Regions from separate parts of the Homo sapiens genome. Here regions 2 and 3 are each linked to region 1. Evidence: promoter capture Hi-C in 16 types of primary human blood cells and fetal thymus (Javierre and others, 2016). All regions are on one chromosome and are shown on one strand. The core of a region is centred on a gene start or on the middle of the fragment in contact, and the rest is flanking DNA. Distances in the headings are between cores, read along the strand shown. Region 1 holds the start of MMP15 (matrix metallopeptidase 15). Region 2 holds the start of ADGRG1 (adhesion G protein-coupled receptor G1). Region 3 overlaps KATNB1 (katanin regulatory subunit B1).

Region 1 (4,859 bases), core at 844-3,343:
ATAGATGAAACGGTATTGGCAAAATATGGATAAGGTTTAAAGCTACTTGATGGAAGGGCTGCAGTTCACACATCTCAGTCCCACTGACTAGTCCTTTCGGGCTTTGGGTGCTGTCCAGACCCAGTAGAAACCCAGCTATCTTGGGTTGGATGTAGATGCAAATCCACCTTGGACTCCCAAAGTACCTATAGGAGCCAGAACCAATAATTGGGAGCTTCAAGATCTGGTCACAGGGGATGTCATTTCCTTAAGGCAGGATTGGACCCCAAGAGAGGAACCTCCAACAGAGAGAAAATCACCAGACTTGACCGACCCAGGCCTCAAAGAACGTTGCTCCACTCATTCCTGGGCTCCTCTCACTAACAGCTAGCCCCTTAAACCCCAACTTTTTTTTTCTTTTTTTCTGAGACAGTGTCTCGCTCTGACAGCCGGGTTGAAGGGCAGCGGCATGATCATAGCTCACTGCATCCTCAACCTCCTGGGTTCAAGTGATCCTCCCAACTCAGCCTCCCAAGTAGCTGGGCCTACAGACGTACACCACCACACCTGGCTAATTTTTGTATTCTTTGTACAGATGGGGTCTTGTCATGTTGCCCAGGCTGGTCTTGAACTCCTGGGCTAAAGCAATCCTCCCACTTCGGTCTCCCAAAGTGCTGGGATTACAGGCTTGAGCCACTTTACCTAGCCCCAAACTTTTTAAAATTGGCTAATCGGGACTAAATATCATGAAAGAGTGCGACGTGGTCGGTTAAACAAGGACAACCCCGTTGTCCGTGTCTGAAGACCACTGCACATTTCCCAAAAGCAAATTTCGAAGTGGAGAATTTAGAAACCAACTTCCCAGATGAAGGATCCCACAGAGAAGTGAGTCCGTGGAAATGATAGAATCGCCCGGTTCCTTTCTCTAAACTCCGACTTCCTTTCCCCAAGGACATCCCAGGAGGGTTCAAACGCGCCCTCTCTAAGGCACTCTGCCAGGTCTCCTGATTTCCAGTTTCCGGGAGGTGAGGCCGGCTAGGGTGCCCCGAGGGCCTGCTCTAGAGAAAACCGCCCTCAGGTGAGGACGGCTTCCATTTCCGGGTCTGAAGATAAGGAACAGCTTATCTTCGGTCTCCGCCCTCCTGCCTGCAACCCTCACCCACTGACCACGCCGGCCAGTCCGCCGCGCCAGGGCTGCCCTTGGCCTGGTCCCCGGGTCTCGGTGGACCTTCGACCCGGGCCTCCCAGCTCTGGCCTCCTGCATCCACCCCGCCCCGACCTCAAGCTGCTTCCGGAATAGAATGAAATCCAGCTCGTTAAGCTTCGCGGGGAGGTGTGTCCACCCGCCCCGCGCCGACTCCGGCCGCACTGTCGCACTTCACTCGCACCAGCCAGTGGCCAAAGTGCTTGGGCACCTATTGCGCCAGGCCAGGAGCCGGAAGTCTTACCTCGCCCTCACCCCAACTCTTTGCCCCACGTTCCCGATAAGAACATGGAGGCTCGGAGAGATTAATTTGCCCACGTGCAAGCGGCAGCTAAGGGGCGGACGCGGAACTTGAACCGTGTCCCTCCTAAACCTGCCCCTTGTCCGCCGCAACGCGCCCTCGACGCGCACAAAACCCTCACTTTGCTACTGAGGAAAGTTATTCAATGGCCAGAGACACCCTGCGGCTTTTGAAAAGAGGTTTCAGGCTGACAAATATCCATATATACATATATATTTATATTTAAGCCTAAAACGACTCTTTGATCCCTCCCCTAAGACCTCCTTCCCGTCCGCCTAGGCCTCGGTATCCCCCACCAGGTATGAGAAGGAGGAGTCTTCATTCTTCCCAGGCGGGGAGACCACGCCTTCCCTGCCTCCTCCCTCCGCGGGGGGTCGCGTTGGAGGTCACCCCCGCCCCCTAGGCGCTGGGTTGGGAGTGACGCGGGGTGGGCTGGAGAGGTTTCCTGCCGTCTGGGAAGCGTAAACGGACCGCCCACCTGTCGGGCCTCGGCCGCCCGCACCTGCTTGTGAGAAGCCTGCGGCTGGGGCACCGCCCCCGGTCCCCGCCCGGGTCCGCGCATTGGGAGCACACTGGCCCTTTAAGAGCGCGGCGGCCGCGGCGCGCGGGGAGGAGGGCTGGGAGCGCCCGGAGCCGCGCTGAACTCGCCGGGGACGTCGGGCGCCCGCTCCTTGGCTGGCTCGCTTGCTCTCTCGCTCGCTCTCTCGGGTCGGCTCCCTGCGCCTCCTCCCGGGACTGCTTGGGGACCCGGGCCCGGTCGGGCGCGGCGGCGAGCAGAATCCCCGTGCAGGAGGCGCGCGCTCCGGGCAGCGCCCGGCCCCGGGCATGGACAGAGGGAGCTGGGCGCGCAGGGAGCGCCGCGGGACCGGGCGGCCGGAGCGCTGAGCCAGACAAAGGCTCCGGAGTTGCGCTTGCTCTCGGGAGCCGGGCCCCAGGCGCTGGGCGCCGAGGCTGCGGAACCTCGCCGGGGGCAGCTCCGGTCGGCCCCCTTTCCCGCCGGCTGGTTCCGAGCTCCCGGACCTGCCCTGCCCGCTTCTCCTCGGGCTTGGGAATTTGCCGAGGCGACCTAGGCGGCTCCGGCGGGGACCGGGAGCCCGAGGTCCGCGGCGCGCCTGCCGGGCCAGGAGCCAGGGAGCGTCGCAAGTTTCCAAGGCGCGTGCGAGGATCCGGCGTGCAGTGTTCCGAGCTGGGCTGGGCGCCGAGAGCATGGGCAGCGACCCGAGCGCGCCCGGACGGCCGGGCTGGACGGGCAGCCTCCTCGGCGACCGGGAGGAGGCGGCGCGGCCGCGACTGCTGCCGCTGCTCCTGGTGCTTCTGGGCTGCCTGGGCCTTGGCGTAGCGGCCGAAGACGCGGAGGTCCATGCCGAGGTAAGACCCCCGCCCTGCCCTTTGGCTGCGGGCTGGGGGCTTGGAGGGAGAGGCGCCACGTCCGCAGGCTGGGACTTGGAGGTGGAGGGAGCGGAGACGCGCCCCCTGTTCTGGGCCGTGGCGGGGAAGCAAGCGGACTTGGCAGTCTGCCCCTCCCCAGCTCGCCCTCTGCAGCGCACCTCTTCGCAAACCCTTGAGGGCGCAGGGCCTCGCTCTCCTCCCCGCTACTCCTACAGCCCTGTTCTGGGCACTGAGCCCCCACCCCGACCCCCTTACATTCAGCCTGTGTCCCGGGAGCCGCTTCCGCCGCCCCCAGCCCTTGCCTCCCCTCCTTCCTTCCCTCCAGGGCAGCCGATTCCTCGAGAGCCCGGCTGGCGCGCAGTGGCGCTCTTTGCGAGTGGGGAGGGGGCTGCTCTCGGGGACAGCCACAGGCGGAGCAAGAGCTGGGCGGCTGGGCAACTGCGCTCCTGCCCAGGTGGCCTCCCGTCTGGGTGATACCGAGCCGCGCACGGCGGGCCAGGATGGAGGCGGGGGGATGGGTGCAAACGGCTGAGGCAGCGGACTCGGGTTGCGGGGGCGCTTTGGCGACTTTCTGCGCTTTTGCGAGGAAGCCTAGGCACGCCCGGGCGGGGTCCTAAGGACGGACCCTGCCTCCCACAGCGCTTCCTCCCAACAGCGCCCCTACGTCGAAGCCCTGGATTCGAGAGGGTGGACCCCGCGCCTCTCTTCGCTAGGAGCCCGCTTGGCGTCCCTCCCGGGGCCCCGCTCTGGATGGGTCCCGCGGGTGACCAGGCGCGACATCCCGGCGTAGAGCCGAGTCCAGCCAGCGCCCCAGCTCCATGGTGTCTCCCGAGCGAGGACACCGAAGGCGCCAGCTTTCTTGCCCCAGAGCAAGAGCAGGGTCCACTCTTCCCCGACTTCTAAGACCTGCGCCCTGCCCCAGATAGGCGGGGAGAGGACTTGGGCGGGGAGTAGGGAGAAAGAACCACCCCGGAGCCGCTTCTGAACGGTGCTCAGGCCTTGGTGCCCTTGGGCTGCCCGGGCTGCGGGCCTGAGCGCCGTTTCTATTTGCAGCTCAGCTGGTGCTCCCTCCCTGGCCCACGGCGGCTTTCCCACCTCTCCGGGCTGCCTGGGAGATTTTTCCGATGGAAGCTTGCCCTTCCCCGCCCTACTTTAATAAAAGCATAGAGGAAGGGCAGGGAATTCCTCCTGGGCTCGAGTTACACCTCCCAGCCATTTCCCCACCTGCTCTGCCCTCCCTCCCTGGCCTGGCCAGGGAGAGCTGAAGGAGGAGCCAGGCCCTGGTGGGAGGCAGGATAGGAGCCCCGCCCCGACCCAGTCTGGCCACCCTCCCCCACCCCATTCACACAGGCAGGAGGAGCTTTAGGGGGCTCCTGTTGGTGAGGATTACCCCTCAGCCTGTGACCCAAGTACTGGGCGGAGAGTGCCATTTGGGCCCACCTGCCACTCTGGGCTGGAGTGCCAAAGAATTTCAAGTCACAGTCCCACCATTGAGTTTCTAATCTACTTAGGGATGGCGTCAATACATAGGAAGCAGTGATGGAATTCAATGGCCGTGCATTGCTAATGGCATCCTAGCTGGCCAGGAGCTCAGGGGTGCAGGGACCTGTAGTTGGAGGGGCTTCACTCTCTCTCTCTTCTGCTTTTCCAGTTCCATCTCACCCCTACCCCAACTCCCCAGCTCAGGGAGTGCCCACAGCTCGATGCCGCCAGGGAAGAAGCCATGGTTGCGTTATCACAAACCGTGCTCCTGATCTGGAGGTTGTGACTGTCCTGGAGCCCTACTCCTGGGGAAACACTTGGGTTGGACCTGGGCAGTGACTGGAAGAGACCCCGGAAGGTTTAAGGAGCCTTGAATGTTGGCAGCCATGCAGATAGAGGGCTAGAGACAGGTGGAGTGTCCCAGCTCCTACAGTTGGCTTTGGGTACAGGCTGCTTCTAGGGTCCCATCAGGTCTGGCCACATGTGGGCCCAAAGAGTCAAATG
Region 2 (4,859 bases), core at 2,360-4,859, 400 kb before region 1:
AGCTGGCCTGAACCCAGAGTCTGTGATCACAGACTCCGGGCTCAGAGAGGGTGCAGCAGCATTGCCCCCTCTCCTCTGTCCCTCAAAACGAAGGGTTTCCTGCACCTTCAGCTTTCTGCTTTCCCCACACCATCTCTGGACTCCGTCGCCAGCCAATGATGCCATGACCTTCTCTGGGCCTGGCGACCCCAGTCCCTCACTGCTGAGCCCCAACGACGTGTTTCCAGCTGCCTTGGGAAGCAGGGGGGACCTGTGGCTTCCCCACATGACACAGAGCTGCCCCCATTCCATTGCACACAGGGCAGTCTCTTCTCTGCCTTCCGGATCTGCACCCCATCCTGTGCCCCGATTCTTCAGGGACGTTTCAGACATCTTCCCCCTCTCCTCGGTCCCCACCTTCACTTGTCGGGTTGTGGGGGGTGGGGTGTCCCAGCCCTTTTCCTGGTCTCTTGGACCAAAGTCTCCTCCCCCGCTCTTCCCCCATCTGCCTCCTTCGAGGCCCCATCCGGACCCAACTTCCCCTCTACTCCTCTGCCCATCCCTCCGCATCATTGCTGGTACAAGTCCCTGGCGTCTAGACCAGGGCTTCTCACACCTCCAATTCTGGAATCCCCTGGGCATCTTATTAAAATACACATTCAGATTCAGCAGGTCTCAGGCTATCTGTAGGTCTGAAGACCACATTTTGAGGGCTAATCAGGCCTCTCCCTACCCAAACATCTTCTCTGGCTCCCCAGTACCTTTGATTTAAGCCCAAACTCTACACTTTCAAAATCTTCCAGAATCTGCCCCTTGCTGCCCAGTTAGATCCCACTTCCTTCCAAGCATGGCTCCATGCCCTACCTCTCCACCTCAGCCAATGCTGTTCCCTCTGCCTGGGGTGCCCTTCCTGCTGGTCTCTGTTTATCGAAGCCCCCTTCTTCTCCTTCAGGTCCCAGCAGGGGCTCTGGGGTCTACACGCTTAGTTCAGATCCTGGCTGTTATAGAAAGGCGTGGGTAGCCCTCCCTGTACCTCGGTTCCCCTTCTGTAAAGTGGGGATAGACTGTTGTGAGAACAGAAGGAGAAGATGAAGTGCCTAGCAGGGGCCGGATATCTGGTGTCCCGTGTTTGGTTACAGCCCACACACCTGGAGGCCCAGCCAGGTCCAAGCTGTGCGACCTTGGCTAAGTTACTTCATGTCTCTGACCATCTCTAACATACAAGTGGTACCCAACCCACAGGGTTGTGTGGATAAAATGAGAATGATCTGTACAAGCAGAGCATCTTACACCATAAAACCTCCAGACATAGCAGGTGATTATTAGTCCTGTTATCAGCACTCATAACAGATAGTGTTGTGTTTAACAAGTCATTGAATTTCTCCCCCTTTACTCCCAGAGACCCCTGGATGCTGAATACCAACTCCAGGTATCGCTACTATGAGAACCAGGCTTGTCTCTCTAGCCAGACTCAGAGCTGGGGGCCTGCTTCCTCACCTGCCTGCCCCTAGCTCATAGTAGGTCTCTGCAAAGTCCGACGGTGAGAGAGGCAGGCAGAGCTGGGCAGCCAACTCCGCCCAGCCAGGCAGCCCCATAAGCCTCTCCTATGTGGCCAGAGTGGCAGCTGGCTCCGCACTCTCTTCAGCCATCTGCAGAGAGAGTGGTGCCTTCAACTCTCCATCTGTGCCCTTCTGGTCAGCACGCTCTGTGGGGTGTGTGTGTGGTGGTGGTGGTGGGGGGACAGCTGCCCTGTGGGCCTGGTCCCTGGGGAACAGCTGAGGCTGCCCGGGTTACCAGTTGATCAGGCCCTGAAGGACTGACCTTGGGGAAACTGAGGCAGAGGTGGTGGTATGTCAGGGACAACCCATCCTCCCCTAGATAACTCACTTGTCCTCCCTTGTTAGTGGGCCCCCAGTGTAGGCTGGCCTCTGCTGCTTTGGCAATAAGGGAGTTCCCACTGCAGCCCCGGGAGAGAGCAGAGGGTATGACATGGGCCCAGTCCCCACTGTGCCTCCCTGCCCCAGGTATTGGCCCACAGCCTGGACTGGGGACTGTGAATGTGGGAAGCACAGTGCCGTTTTCTGGAAGCTCTCACCTTATGGCCTCCCTGCACCCCACGGGGTGGCTTTGTGGCCCTTCCTTTCTGCAGCTTGATTTCAAGCAGGTAGGTGAGGAGTGCAGTTCACCTGCAGCAGCCCTGGCTCCTAGGCTGCCCGAGACGTTCCATTCATTCTTCCTCCACGTGGCATGGGGAAGCTTTTCCTGGCCCCCTTGTTTAGAAGGCAGATCTCTACCGGAGAGAAGGAATCTCAAGTTCCCCAAGCATCCACGTGTCCAGGCCCCAGGCTGAGGCCTGGGGTGCTGGATTGCTGAGTGGTTAGGAGACCCGCTATGGAGCCAGACGGCCTGTGCTCCCGCCATCCCAACTCGGGCACCTCCCTGCTGTGTGATCTTGGGCAGGTTAATTCTCATCTCTGAGCTACATGTATCTGCCTTAAGCTCCCTCTTCTTCATCACCACATTCACAGGGAGTATTTATTGAGGGCTTGGCAAGTACCAGGCACTGGTCTGAGTAGCAGGTTTGACTTCTCTCCACTGCCAGGGGCGCTCTGGAGCTGGAATGCAGACGGTGGTCAGCGAGTGTAATTACTGTTATTGTCACCACTCACCCTTCTGGCATTGTAAAAGCCTCCCAGCACATCTGACTGAGGAATCATCTATCCTCATTGCTCGGAGGAGGAGGGCAGACAGGAGCCTCTGCAGGGAGTGTGAGTTATCCAAAGCCTCCTGACTCGAGAAGGGCACTGAACCCCAGCAGCGGGAGGTGCTGCTGACAGAGGAATGACCAGAAGGGGGATGGGGCATGGTCCATTTCCACACTTCTCTGTCTGAGCTTTTGGGGCCACTGGGAATGGCTCTTCACCCAGGCCTCGGTTTCCCCTTTGGCTCAGCAGATGGATTAAAGGAGGCCGTTTCCAGAAGCCCCTGGGGTCTCAGAATCCAAAATGACTTGGGATGTTGAAACTGTGGGTGCTTGAGGAGCACTGAGAGGGGAGACGGGTCACCCCCCGGGGGGACGCAGGTCAGCCGGTCAGTCGTGCGTGGCCTGGCTGGCCTCCTGCCCGGCTGCCTGTCACCCGCTCCCTCCCGACTGCCTTCCGCTCTGCCGGTCAGCACTGGCTCCCGTCGGCTGCCAAGGAGGCTGGACTCTCCTTCAGGAAAGGGCAGTTGTCGCCCTGACCTGGGGGGTGGGCGGACAGCATCCAAGGGCCCTGTTGCCGTGGCAACCCCGGCCTCTCTGTGGGAACTTTGGGGAGACTGGCCCTGGGAGGCGACAGATGGAGGCTGAGGAAGCAGAGTGATCCCCGGCCCCTTCCTGTCCCTGAACACTGTCTGCCTGGATGAGGGGTGAGGCTGAGGTGCCCCCTTGCCCGGCGCTGAGTCATGGGCATCCCCCAGGATCACTGCCTCAGCGCTCTCAGCCCTGCCCCCTCCTGGTCTCCCTCTGAGAAATCCATGACTCACATATATCGTCCGTCATCCCCAGTCAAGCTCAGGGAGGAGGGAGGAGCCCAGCTGGGGCAGGAGAGGGGTGTCTCCCCACCAAACAAACCCGGTCCCTCCCTCTCCGCACTAGCTGTCTGCCCTGCCCTGCCGTAGGAGATGGGCTGGGAGCCTCCCACGCTCTCCAGCTCACTCGGCAGGCAGCGGGGACCAGGGCTGGCAGGTTAAGCCTCTGGGGGTGGATCCTGAAAGGTGGTCCAGCCGCCTGGCCCTGCGTGGGACCCTCCACCTGGCAGCAGGTACCCAAACAAGGGCTGGACAGCAGGTGGGAAGGGGAATAGTGTGAGTGTGAGAGTGTGAGTGTGTGAGCGTGAGTGTGTGAGAGTGTGAGTGTGTGAGTGTGAGTGTGTGAGAGTGAGTGTGAGTGTGAGTGTGAGCGTGAGAGTGTGAGAGTGTGTGAGTGTGAGTGTGTGAGAGTGAGTGAGAATGTGAGTGTGAGTGTGAGAGTGTGACTGAGCGTTTGAGTGTGAGAGTGTGAGTGAGTGTGTGTGAGTATGAGTGTGAGTGTGAGTGTGGGAGTGTATGTGAGTGTAAGTGTGGATGTGTGCATCCGTGCACGGGTGGCTGTTGGACAGTGGGTAGGGATGGTGGTGAAATGGGGAAATGGGGGGGTCTTGGTATCTTGGTGGGATCTAGTCCAGGTCAGCATGGCTGTGGGTGGGTCTCTAGAGTGGGGGCGGACCCACAAGGAGATGCCTGGGAGGGGACTGGGGCCCAAGGGGAGCGACACCTCCCGGGGCTCCCAGGCATTTTGTTGCTGGAGAAACTGAGGCTCAGAGTGGTACAGTCACTGGGCCCAGCAAGCTGGGGTCTGCTCTTTAGGCTGTGAGATCAGTGCTCCTACTACACAGATGGGAGAACCGAGGCTCTGGGAGGGCAGGTGGCTTGCCCAAGGTCACCTAGCACATCCAGGTATAGAAAGCCAGGGGCCAGGCTCAGGGAGGGGGTGGCACTTGAGGGAACTCCTGAGGACAGCTTTCCTGCAGCTGTCCCTGGGGCTGGGTCCGGGGTCCCCACTGAGCAAGGGACAGCCGTGCTCTTCATCACCAAGGCCAGCTTTGGGAGAAGGTGGCCCCGCAGGGTCTCTGAACGTGGGCCACGTGGGTGAGAGTCCTGGAACCGGTGACAGGCAGACGGGGAAGCGCAGGCTGCGGGCTGAACACCCTGCCCGTTGCCACCAGACCTCAGGGCTCCATCTGCCTGGCACTGATAGGACTTCCCACCCTGGTCCCCGCGGGGGCTGGGAGTGTGTAGGAAACCAATGATTCCTGTCCTCCCCCGTCCCCAACCCACCTCCCCTGCGTGGTAGAGTTGGG
Region 3 (4,859 bases), core at 429-2,928, 270 kb before region 1:
GTGGACCATGGGCGACATCAAGGCAAGTGCCCACCCTTGCACAGGGCCTCATCTCGCCCCCCTGCCCCTGCCACCTGCCTGCCCGGGCTTGGGGCAGAACAAGAAGAGGCCACCCATGGGGGACAGTGTGGGATAGGCCATCCCTGACGTCACACCATCTGTTTCCGCCATCATCATCATCATCACAGACTGCCGTTTAGTGAGCATCTGTTTACATGCCTGGCCTTACACTCATTGCGTTAGGTGCAGTGCTGAATACCCACAGCCCCATCAGCACACCCACATTCACGTTCGTACCCCCACCCTCACCCTCACAGGGCCACACTGTCCCCCACTGCCCCACCCCTGACGGTGCTCTGTTTGCACAGACGTCGGTGGACTCCGCTGTGGCCATCAACGACCTGTCGGTGGTGGTGGACCTCCTGAACATCGTCAACCAGAAAGCGTAAGTGGCTGCAGAGGGGGAGTGGGCGGAGGGGCAGGGCTGGGCTGATGGCAGCATGTCCTGGCCTCTCCTAGCTCCCTGTGGAAGCTGGACCTGTGCACCACCGTCCTGCCACAGATTGAGAAGCTTCTGCAGAGCAAGTATGAGAGGTGCGTGTGGGGAAGCCATGCCTGCCTGAAGCAGGGGGAGGGGAGAGGTAAGAAGCCTCCTCCAGAACCATGGGAAGGACCCCCAAGAGCCTGGGTGTTCCTGTGAGCTGGCTGTGAAGCATTGCTGCCCCTCAACAGTCCGGAGGTGGGAGTGGAAACAGGCGTGTGTGGGTGTATGTGTGGGTGTGTCTGTGTCTGTTTCTGCCCCTCTCCTCCTTTGTTCCTTGCTGTTTCTCTTTCTGTCTGTGGCCCTTGGTCCATCTGTGACTTCATCCATCTCCCCCTAAAGCTACGTCCAGACGGGCTGCACCTCCCTGAAGCTGATCCTGCAGCGGTTTCTGCCCCTCATCACAGACATGCTGGCGGCCCCACCCTCTGTGGGTGTGGATATCAGCAGGGAGGAGAGGTGAGGGCAGCGCATGTGTTGGGGGCAGGGGTGCCACAACAGGTGAGGGGACAAAGGCCTGGAGGCCTGGGCCCCTCTTACTGACAGTCCTGCTGGGACAGAGTACAGAGGAGGCGTTGGTCTGGGGCCATGGCTCAGGGTGTGGGTGGGCTTAGCCAGAGCTGGGTTCCTCCATGGCCTGGCTGTGCCCACAATCCCTGGCAGGGCCTGGGTGGTTCCCCTCTGGGCCTCCGCCTTCCCTTGGGAGGAAGGGCTGGAGCAGTTAGGACAGCAAAGGCCCTGGGGTTGGGTGTGGGTGGTGGTGGTGCCAGCTAGCCCCTCAGGCACTGCCCTCTCTACAGGCTGCATAAGTGCCGGCTCTGCTACAAGCAGCTTAAGAGCATCAGCGGCCTGGTCAAGAGCAAGTCAGGCCTGAGCGGCCGCCATGGCAGTACCTTCCGCGAGCTGCACCTGCTCATGGCCAGTCTGGACTGAGGAAAGCAGTGGGCAGGGGCGCTCGGCAGCCCACAGGGCCTGGCCTCAGCCCCCACTCCTGTTCCTTGTGCACCCACTGGCCCATGAGCCTCTGCCTGGCCCCTGCTGCTGTCCTGTGGCCGTCCTGGAGGAGGTGATGCTGGTCCCTGGCCACCTCTACAGCCCTGAACTCTTGAGACAACTCTCTCCAGCAATAGCTGCCCAGCTTTGCCCAACTGTTGCTTCTTGGGGCAGCGAACTGAGCCCTGGGGCTGCTGCTGTAATTTATAAGGCAAATTTTATTAAATTTGTAACTATTCCCAGGTTTCCTTGTGGGGAATGTTTTCTGCTGGCCACAGGGCTCCCCGGGCCCAGGAGTGCCTGCCCCATGGTTTGAGATGAGGCCACACCCCCTCCAAGCCCGGGGGTGGGGCTCTGGGCCATGTGGCCAGCAGGGGGCAGCAGAGAATCAGGCCTCTGGGACAGCACCAGTTCAGCCAGTGCAGACTGGGAAGGAAGGGGAGGCGGCAACCACCCTTCCACCACTGGGTGTTGAGGTTAGGGGTGGCCCCCACCAGCCCGTTCCTCCCCACCTCAGCTACACTCAAGCTGTCTTATGGACACCCCCAGGATGCCTCCAGGGGCAGGACTAGAAGGGCACCTGCCCCTTCCTCTGAGCAGGGCTCCGATCAGCTGTCACTCCCTGCTGGAGTCCCCAGCACTGGCTGGCGGGAAAGGGCTCCCTGCTCCGTGGGCACTGCGACAGGTGGGCCCCCTCCTGCTCCCAAGGCAGGGACCAGGTACAGCCCCGCCCCGGGGTGGTCAGGGTCCTCGGCACTGGAGGAAGGTGGCGTGGACCTCTGGCCAGTTCACTGAAGAGGGAAAAGGCCAGGGCAAAGAGTGGGCAGTGGGTGGTGCCCAGCAGTAACCTGGAAGCCCAGCATGGTTTGGGCAAGGCTTTGATAGCCTTTGAAGCTCTCTCCAGCCTTAGTTTCCTTCCCATCAGTAACATGGAGGAATGCCCCTGTTGGGAGGTCAGTTATCGTGGGCACATGGTAGGTACCGCATGAGGCGACTGTGACCACAAACAACAGAGAAAGTGACCCAGGGTGGGACAGCGCAGGCTCCCCCCAGTTGTTTGTTAAGGACGCATGTCCCTAACTGACCTAGAGGACAGATCCCAGAGGGCTGTGGGGTGACCAGCCAGCGGGGGAGTCCACAAGACCTGCCAGTGCCCCGTCCCCCTAATCAGACCAAGAGGGGCTCACAGACCAACTTTTTCAGACCATACTTGTGTAAAAAGGCTTCTTTTATTTTAATAAGTAAAAATGGCTAAGCTTCCAAAAGTTCTTAAATAGGATTTCAGAGGGAAGAAAATTCGAGAGACCAGCGAGCCAGGCAGGTGAGCGAGCAGCAGAATCCCCCACCCGCTGGCTGCCTCTGCCAGCCATAAACACAGCACGGCCCCGTGGCGGGAGGCCATGCGCCTCCGCACACCCCCCAGCTGCGGGAACCCTCCTTGAAGGAGAGGGGCGGGGAGGGCTGCCATTGGTGCCACCAACCCACCCCAGTCCCCATGGTTCTTGGGTCTGCCCAGAGGCTCCTCGCCCACCCCCTAAGGAGGGGGCTGGCCAGCTCTGCAAGCTGAGGAGAGGGGCCGAGAAAGCCTGGGTGAGAGGCCCACCCTCCTCCACACTCCCGCCCTCCTCACGGGGCCCAGTTCGCTGATGGCCCAGGCCTGCCAGGAAGAGCAGCCACCCCCGCCTTTCCGCCCATGCAATTTGCACTCAGAGCCACAGCCGAGAGACACCGTTTCCTTCTGAACATGTTTCTCATCTTTGAGGGGAGACGGGGCAGAAGAAGAGCCTCCACTCTCGCCTCTACCTCCGGGGGTCCTGGCGCTGCAGCAGGGACAGGCCAGTGAGGGCCCAGCTTCAGGCCCAGCGGGGTCACATCCGTCACACAGGCAGTGGCCGCGACTTCCCTGCAGGGGCATGAGATCATCAGCCTCTTGTCCACTTGCCCACCGGCAGCCCACAGCAGTTGCCACCGAGAGCAGGAGGGAACCCAGCAAAAGCACATAGACAAGCGACAGCAGGGGCTAGACCCAGCTCTGAACAGCAGAACGTCCCAGCGCAGCCCTGCAACCCACTGCGGGCAGGCAGGCGGGCAGCCCTGGGCCACAGGCCCCACACTCACCTAGAGACTCTGCAGCCCCAGCCGTCAGGCTGAAATCAAAGTGACAGGCGTCTCACTGGTGGGCTTGCCTTGGGCCAGTACCCCACAAGACCCTGCTGCTGCTACCCCTTTGGACTCAAGGATGGGCCAGGCCCTCCCATGATCTGGGCTAAACAGGGGCTGGAGCCCTGGGTCCCGGTCCTGTGGCGGGGCTCACTCCTCACCTAGGAGGTAGGCAAGCCCGGCCCTTTCTACCCCCGGGGCAGCTGAGGCACAGGGAGGGGGCTGCAGGGGCTGCTCTGGAGGGGGCTTACTGCACAGGCTCAGCCAGCCCATGCTCAGAGAGCAGGGTCCCAGGGTAGAGTCAGCACCCCCGGCTGAGAGGCTGGGGTCTCCTTACACTGCCCCCTTCCCACAGACCTTCCATTTCCCACCTGCAGAACGGACACAGCACTGTCTGCCCTGACTACTGCCTGGGGGCAGGGGAGGTTGTAAAACAGGTTCTGGAGAAGGTGTAAGAACTTTTTAAAAAGGAAAGAAAAGAGAAAGCCCATCCAGGTAAGGGCAGCCTGGTGACTATTACCCTGGGGAGACTCCCCACCCACACTGCCACTCCAGGCTCACCCGAGGGCTGCAGCTTCCTCCGGATGGATCCAGGGCGGCTACTGGTCCCAGAGCTGGGGGCTGAGTGGGCCCGTGCCGAGGGCTGTGGCGTCTGACAAGCCGGCTCCCACTGTGAGCAGGGAAGGGCGGATGGGCGGGGGCCACGGCTGCCCTGGCTCCCCACCCTGCTGTGCTTCTCTCTACTCCCCTGCCCTGCCTCCTAACACCCAGTTTCCTCATCTGCAAAATGGGCATGATGTTTGTGCCCCAGCCTCAGTTATGGCAAGAATTAAATGAGATAATTCATGTAAAGAAGTCAACTAGTTACCACTGAGCATCTACTATGTGCCACCCCCACGGCCAGCTCGTCACCCCACAGGAACCTCCGAGGCCAAGAAGAAATACCTGTACTGAAGAGGCTGCTGGCTGTGGGTTCCAGCCGTAGCTCCACCCAACTCCGGCAGCTTCCCTGCCCCCACTGCTTCAGGACGTCCCCGCCCAGCTCCCTGCTCCTGCCATGACCCAAAGTCTCTGACCCAGGGCCACCTGAGCCAGGCCTGTGACAGTCCCCGTACCTCTAGATGCTCCTGGCTTGACCAGGACCCAAGCTCTGCCCTGCGTAGCC

The links. Contacts are between HindIII fragments. The CHiCAGO score rates a contact against its expected background, and 5 or more counts as called.
Region 2: the fragment with the promoter of ADGRG1 here is called in contact with the fragment with the promoter of MMP15 in region 1 in 3 of 17 cell types (M1 macrophages, erythroblasts and neutrophils); the score reaches 7.1 in M1 macrophages.
Region 3: a fragment that was not itself captured here is called in contact with the fragment with the promoter of MMP15 in region 1 in 2 of 17 cell types (activated CD4 T cells and non-activated CD4 T cells); the score reaches 5.2 in activated CD4 T cells.

What each region holds. Positions count from the first base shown.
Region 1 is chr16:58,023,661-58,028,519 of GRCh38, forward strand. It overlaps MMP15 (matrix metallopeptidase 15), which reads left to right and starts at 2,094. Exons shown (of 10, transcript NM_002428.4): 1 at 2,094-2,852. The coding sequence starts at 2,691. RefSeq lists enhancers at 703-1,290, 1,291-1,876, 2,109-2,658, 3,209-3,758 and a silencer at 2,103-2,242. The HindIII fragment of the contact is 2,704 bases long and covers 1,299-4,002 here.
Region 2 is chr16:57,625,021-57,629,879 of GRCh38, forward strand. ADGRG1 (adhesion G protein-coupled receptor G1) reads left to right here and starts at 3,610. Exons shown (of 14, transcript NM_201525.4): 1 at 3,610-3,782. RefSeq lists enhancers at 2,791-3,446, 3,447-4,102 and a silencer at 3,652-3,721. The HindIII fragment of the contact is 3,448 bases long and covers 2,234-4,859 here.
Region 3 is chr16:57,755,473-57,760,331 of GRCh38, forward strand. KATNB1 (katanin regulatory subunit B1) reads left to right here. Exons shown (of 20, transcript NM_005886.3): 16 at 1-22; 17 at 369-445; 18 at 520-594; 19 at 884-1,000; 20 at 1,342-1,772. The coding sequence ends at 1,474. It overlaps KIFC3 (kinesin family member C3), which reads right to left. Exons shown (of 20, transcript NM_001130100.2): 17 at 4,810-4,859; 18 at 4,256-4,364; 19 at 3,653-3,681; 20 at 2,745-3,437. The coding sequence ends at 3,677. Among named protein-coding and RNA genes, the nearest start is that of MIR6772, 14 kb to the right of the region's middle. RefSeq lists enhancers at 1,517-2,156, 1,745-2,039 and a silencer at 1,838-1,987. The HindIII fragment of the contact is 2,219 bases long and covers 570-2,788 here.